Linked DNA regions of Homo sapiens: region 2 is linked to region 1. Evidence: promoter capture Hi-C in 16 types of primary human blood cells and fetal thymus (Javierre and others, 2016). All regions are on one chromosome and are shown on one strand. The core of a region is centred on a gene start or on the middle of the fragment in contact, and the rest is flanking DNA. Distances in the headings are between cores, read along the strand shown.

Region 1 (3,332 bases), core at 272-2,771:
AGAACATGTGTCTGGCTTAGTGGAGAGAAAGGCAAAGCTACCATAGCCAGAGGTGACCCTCTTGGAGCTCCATTCACTCAGCATCTGGGGGAATCAGTTCCTCAGAGCAGCTTTTCATGTATCACCTACTCATGTCCTGTCCTAGCCTCATGAAGAAAATTACTCTGAGGCCCTGACCTTTGGAGGACATTTGAAATCTCAGAAGAGAAGAGAATGACCAAGACATTTAGTGAGTCAGAGATCAGAGCTTTATTATAACATGAGGTAAAGGAGGAAAAGAAGACTTGCAATTGGGGTGTTACATCAAGCACGAAGTTCTTCCAGGAAAGCCCCATGAGTCTTTGTGGTCTCTGCCAACCAATGAATGGAATGAGAGGAAGTGGAAAGAGTATCCATCAGGCCGTAGCAGGTTCTTGGCCATTCAGTCCCAAGAGCTCTTCTGTAGCCCAGGTCAGCAGCAGCCCCCAGAGCTGTGGCAGCAGCCAGAGCCCCCAGAAGGTTCACTCTCACAGCAGTCGGGGCTCTGGTGCCGGCGCCGGTGGAAGAGACGGGGCCTGTGGTGGCTCAGGGAGCAGCCACCAGCCCCAGAGCTGCAGCAGCCCCCAGAGCTGGGACCACAGCAGCTCCCAGAGCTGGGACCACAGCAAGAAGAGACTGCAGGGAAACATGGAGCTGGGCACTGTGGTGGGCATTTGGGGGGACACTTAGGTGGACATTTTGGGGTACACTTGGGAGGACACTTGGGAGGGGGCTGGCACTGCTGCTGGTTTTGCTGGCAAGACATGCTGGCAGGAGTTTAGTCAACCTGAAAGATAATAATGAAACTCTTTAAATATTTCAAACCAAGGATCATATTATACCTCTTCTAAAATCAATGCATGTGTAGAAGAAGAATGATATTTAGATAATACAATCACATCAGTAACCTGAAAGAAACAACTTGAATCTTTCCTCTAGATAAAAGTACGTAGATAAAAAATCAACAGAATGAGCTTCTTACTCTTCCTTTCAGGGGAAACTGCGATTGCTCTATCCTCACAAGCCCGAATAGAGTATTCACAGCTCCCTGAAGTACCTATTCCTTTAATACAAGCCCTAAGGACAAGCTGGGTGTTGCAGGACATACCAAGGGGTCCTCTGGAAAATATTTTGCAATGAAACCTCCAGATAAAAGAGCCTGGCTTGAAGTATTTGCCAGTTTCCATGGTGTAAATATGCCCAACACAGCAGTTTTGAAGTTACCAACATGAAGTCACTGAACACAGAATTGGAAAAGATGTGCACAGTTAGCTTTCCCCACCTATATGAGCTCCGGTAGGCCTCAGAGCCTCAACAGATTCGAGGCAGGCTGAGTCCCATTCCTGCTCAGTATGGCAGAACACAAGCACACAACTCTTTCTCCAGCCTACCTCCATCCTCCCCATCCCTCTGCCTTGCTCATACCCCTCTGGTATCCCAGGTTGCCACTCACCCTGGTCACACGCAGGAGCACAGACACGTCCCTGGGGAGTCAGAGCAGATGAGATGCTGAAGCTGGATGTGTCTTTTATAGGGCCCAGGCTTGGCTCTGGAAAGAGCAGGAGGTGGCTCTTGCACAACCAGGCACACGCTGGGTCATTCCTGACATTCTCCTGCCTCTTAGTCCCTGCAATCCAAAGAGGCCTCAGGAGCTTCCAGGACTCCTCTCTGGGGCTGCAGTCTAGAGAGGCTGTAGCCAGTCAGAGCCTCCACCAGGTGGGAACCCTAAAGAGTTAACTTAGGGTACCCAAGGGACCCACACCTGGACAAGATTCTGTTCCCTGCATTTTTTTAATGCATGTCCTCTGAGGAAACATCAGTTCTGAGCCACAGCTTTCCCTGACCTTGTGGAAATGTTCCATTATGACTCCCTCCACCCTGAGCAGTTTCTCTTCCATGTCCTGCTGTGGATCCAGCCATCCCAGAGGGCTTCTACAGCCTTGGCTTTTTCTAGGCATCCCTCCCTTGCCTAGGCTCTCAGCCCTTCCTCCTGGCCTCTGTGTTTCTGCTTTTCCTCCGACTCACCATGGCAAGCAGATTCGGTGGATTAAATCTGAGTTGATTCTGTCACCTAAAGCAAGGAGAATGATTGAGAATAAACAATTCCCTCTAAAATCTAAACATTTCCTTCAGTCAGAGGACTTGTATTGAATGTGCTACTGGAATCAGAAAACTTGCATATGATAACTGGGTAATCTCTGAAAGTTGCTGTAACAATTATCAATAATTGCTAGAGTATTACTATGATACTCACTGTGAGTATCAGTTCTCACATATAATGCCCATTATAAACCTATCAGTGAGATATACCTATCTCACTGAGCTGTTTGTAATATAAAGTGAGAAGCAAGAAAGAGCTAAGTATGACATTTTGTGCCTGATAGACCCTTAATAAATATATGTTTAATAGAAAAACTAATGCCATGTATTGGATACTTGCCCCGGTCTTATGTGTCATTAATTGCCCATATAGAGCCCTTACCCTCAGAGAGCTTAACTCCACCAGACACTTAGATTATTTGAAACCTGTCTTGGGAAGTAGACATCATTTCTTGGGGCTCCTATGCAGAGGGAACTCCTTTCCTACCAGGAAGTAGAGGGTCAGCCAGGAATCTAGTTATTCAGAGTTCTGATTCAGGGTTGCACTAGACAGAGTTACCCAGTCATTTATTCATTTAGTTTAAACAGATACATTGAGTGTGAACCTTGAAAACATTACACTACGTGAAAGAAGCCAGTCACAAAAGACTGCATATTGTATGATGTTATTTATATGAAATGTGTAGAGTAGGCAAATCTCTGGAAATAGAAAGGGGATGAGGCTTTAGCCAGTTACAGCCTCTCCCAGGCTGGACCCCTGAAGAGCTGACTCAGGGCATCCGAGGAACAAGAGCCTGGATGAGATTCTGTTCCCTGTATCTCCTTTTATGTTTATGCCTGTCCTCTGAGAAATATCAGTGGCTTCCAGGTGCTTTAGCGGGCTGGGAGATATTGAGAAGTTACTGCCAATGGATACAGGTTTTCTTTGTGAAGTAATGAAAATGTTCTAAAATTATGGTGGTGATTGTCCAACTCTGTGAATATACTGAAAACCATTGAATTTACACTTTAAACAAATGAACTACAAATATGTTAATTACATCTCAATAAAGGTGTTAAAAATTAGAATTGAAAAAAATAGATATTCACACCTCTGATTAAAACAGAAACAGACTGTGCCTTCACATTGCCTAATGCCTACTTAGTGGGGGAGGGGAGGATGCGGAGAAAGCATAGTTTCCCATTGTCAGCTTCTAACTGAGGGATTCTGTTCT
Region 2 (3,332 bases), core at 469-2,968, 700 kb before region 1:
CTGCCCCCACCCAGGTTGGTTTCTAAATAAGATAGCTACAAAGATAAAAAGCCATACACCAATCTCACAACTTGCCCACAAGGAAATTCCTTGTGAGCCTCAAGATCTTTACCCTAAAACAGTTCTATTGAATTTCACCCTGGCAGTGTAATTGACAGCTTATCTTCACAGGTGTGGGACAAAGGGCAGAACATAAAGTCATCCCTCTGCTCACCCAAGACAAATCCATATCTGATTGCTTCCTCTCCCCTATTTTTGTTATCTTATGTAAAAATGCAGATTCACTGAGCCAGATGAAGGCATAAGTGACTATTTCCTCTACTCCGCTCCCACATGAAAATTGTGTATTCAGTGAAAGATTGATCAAAGACTCAAAAGGATGCAATCACTTGTCTCTTATCTACTGACACATTTAAAAAATATTTCTTCCTCTTCCCCCAATATCCACTGTTTCTCCTTCAAATATTGAAGCCCTCAAAATCATCTTTGGAGAAAGACGTAGACCTACCTCTGGGCACGCATCCTTAACTTTGGCCAAATAAACCTCCTAAAATGATTGAGATTCACCTTGGTCATTGTCATTGATTTACACAAGCCTGATCATCCTGCTCTGGTGGTGTCCTCCTGGGCCTAGTGAAACAAATACTGTCAATGGCTTAACAATGTTGCACTGAGATTGTGTCAGTCAAGGTGACACATGGATCGGAGAGACAGACTTTTGCCTCCAGATCCAGAGAGGTCGGTGGGCACATGAAATGAACTAGCTTTGCTAAGGGGGATATCTGTGTTGTGGGGTAGATGGCAGCACAGGTTCTGGCATGGCCTTGATTGCTCAGCAATCTTATTGACCTCTAGGCATAAACCAAGGGCAGAGTGCTTTTGGATGTCCCTTAGCTTTGGTGCGACATGGGGAATGTACAGATGAGACTTAATCCATTTTGGGCAGGTTTCTGAATCTTGAAGGACCACCTCTCCATGAATCCTGGGCATCTGTTGTCCCTTGCTGCCTCTCTGTGAGTAATAAAGTTGCTTTACTAAAACTCGTGTGAATGTTCTGTCTTACTGAACTCATGAACATGGTAAAGTAACCTAGGCATGGTGAACTTTCTTCACACACAATGATTACCCTACTCCAGCTTTCTAGGTCTTTGTAACAGCCAAGTTAGAAAGTTGGGAAAGCAAAGGGGAGGCATAGTAGCATTGCTCTCTCCTTTTTTGAAAACCTTGGAATCTATTTTGAAAACTGATCCTCTGCTCCAGTGATGAACTTTGCATCCCAGAACGACTTAGGAGGAGGTCTCCCTACCTATCTCCTTAGCTGCATAAAGATCTTTAAGTTGATATTCCATTTGCCAAAACTGAAGAGCTGGTAACCTCATCTGTTAAAACAAGACACTCAGGCTGTAAAGTTTGTTCTCCTAGTCTTTTATTAGGGAGCAGTGGAGTAGAGCTAAACCTGAAACCTGGGCCCTGGCTCAGGGCTAAAAAAGGTTCAGGGCACCCCTGTGCGGGTGGGTGGAGTGGGGGTGATTTTGTTTCAGGCTGAGCAGGAGGGCAAAATTCAGTCTGGGTACAATCTGGGCTGCTCCTGTGGCAGCCTAAGCCACAGGTTTGAAGCTTCTATTGAGCAACAGAGTACTTTACATAAATTGCCTCAAGATGAATCAGAGATTTCTTCACCCAAGGGCTAAGATGAAGCCTGAACTGATTATAAAACCTTCCTTGGCTCAGTGCCCTTCACCACTGCTGGCTTTTTGCTGTAGCTCCACATTCCTGTGCATTGAGGGGTAAGTGCATTTTCCTTGGATGGGTTCTTAGGTGGTCCACAGGGTAGTGACTGCAGGTGACCACTTTGAAATCACAAGGTGTTGGAAACCACAACCCTCCACTTGCCTGAGCACCTCTGGGGTGATATTGCATTTTGGACCCAAGTAGATCAGCTCTTGTTGTGCTATGTAGACTCAGTCCCATGATTTAAGAATGGCTAAGCAGGCCGGGTACGGTGGCTCACGCCTGTAATCCCAGCACTTTGGGAGGCCGAGGCGGGCGGATCATGAGGTGAGGAGATCGAGACCATCCTGGCTAACATGGTGAAACCCCGTCTCTACTAAAAAAATACAAAAAATTAGCCGGGCGTGGTGGCGGGTGCCTGTAGTCCCAGCTACTCGGGAGGCTGGGGCAGGAGAATGGCGTGAACCCGGGAGGCAGAACTTGCAGTGAGCCGAGATCGCCCTACTGCACTCCAGCCTGGGCGGCAGAGTGAGACTCCGTCTCAAAAACAAACAAACAAACAAACAAAAAACCCAAAACAACAACAACAAAAAAAGAATGGCTAAGCAGGGGTGGGTTATGGACCATTTGTGGGGGATATGTGGCCATAGTGCCATCACCTGAGGAAAGCAAACAGCCTGGCCAATCACAGAACCCTTCCCAAGGGACCTTGAGTAAGCAATACCCTCCAAGTTATGCACCCCGGTGGATGAGGTGGTATGGAACATGGGCAACTGAGGCTGATTTTTTTAGACGTTAGACAGTATTATATGTTTTCTCCTCCCCATCCTATCCACACATGAGAAGTTCACCATGGATCAAACAGAGCAGAGACCACAAAATAGATATGGAGGATGTTATGTTTTCTTTAGGCCCTTGATTCAGAAAGAGAGGGGAGAGTGGAGGTTGAGGGGTGGGGGAGAAACTGCCTCTAGACTTCCCTTGTTTCCTTGAAGGTTAACATTAGGCTGGGAAGATGACAAAACTTGAAGAGCATCTGGAGGGAATTGTCAATATCTTCCACCAATACTCAGTTCGGAAGGGGCATTTTGACACCCTCTCTAAGGGTGAGCTGAAGCAGCTGCTTACAAAGGAGCTTGCAAACACCATCAAGGTAGGTGATGCCCCTCTCACTGCAAACTTGCCCATGACCCTGCACTGAGGGGAGTGGCAAGGCCTGGCAGAGGATGGTGGGACAAGGACTGGGGTGGGGTTGGCCCCAGTTTGAGCTCCCAAAGGATGCTCTCCCCGCTGCTGTGGGAGAGGTCCTTTGCTTCCCTCTCTCAATAACTCACTTAAGGCTCTACTCAGTTCCTCTCTCTGAGTCTGTTTCCTCATATGTAAAATGGAGAGAGGCAGGGCACGGGAGGGGTTGAATGAGTGAGCAGAAGAGTACCTTCCAGGTCAAGCCTTGTTAATTCCAGGGTGGTTCATGACCATTGTGTTCTCTGTTTTGTTACACTGGATTCTCCAACACAGTGTTGGCTAATGAGTTAATGTGCCTGGGCCTTCACAACCCGAGCTCTGAGGGATAAGAGGCCTAAGAAAGGGTCTTGTGTGGA

Evidence for each region. The method cuts DNA at HindIII sites, captures the fragments that hold promoters and counts their contacts. A CHiCAGO score of 5 or more calls a contact.
Region 2: the fragment with the promoter of S100A12 here is called in contact with the fragment with the promoter of LCE2C in region 1 in 4 of 17 cell types (endothelial precursors, total B cells, non-activated CD4 T cells and 1 more); the score reaches 9.3 in endothelial precursors.

The regions. Positions count from the first base shown.
Region 1 is chr1:152,673,468-152,676,799 of GRCh38, reverse strand. It overlaps LCE2C (late cornified envelope 2C), which reads right to left and starts at 1,521. Exons shown (of 2, transcript NM_178429.5): 1 at 1,472-1,521; 2 at 231-805. The coding sequence starts at 784. The coding sequence ends at 452. The HindIII fragment of the contact is 8,836 bases long and covers 1-3,332 here.
Region 2 is chr1:153,374,007-153,377,338 of GRCh38, reverse strand. It overlaps S100A12 (S100 calcium binding protein A12), which reads left to right and starts at 1,718. Exons shown (of 3, transcript NM_005621.2): 1 at 1,718-1,787; 2 at 2,727-2,884. The coding sequence starts at 2,747. The HindIII fragment of the contact is 5,829 bases long and covers 1,620-3,332 here.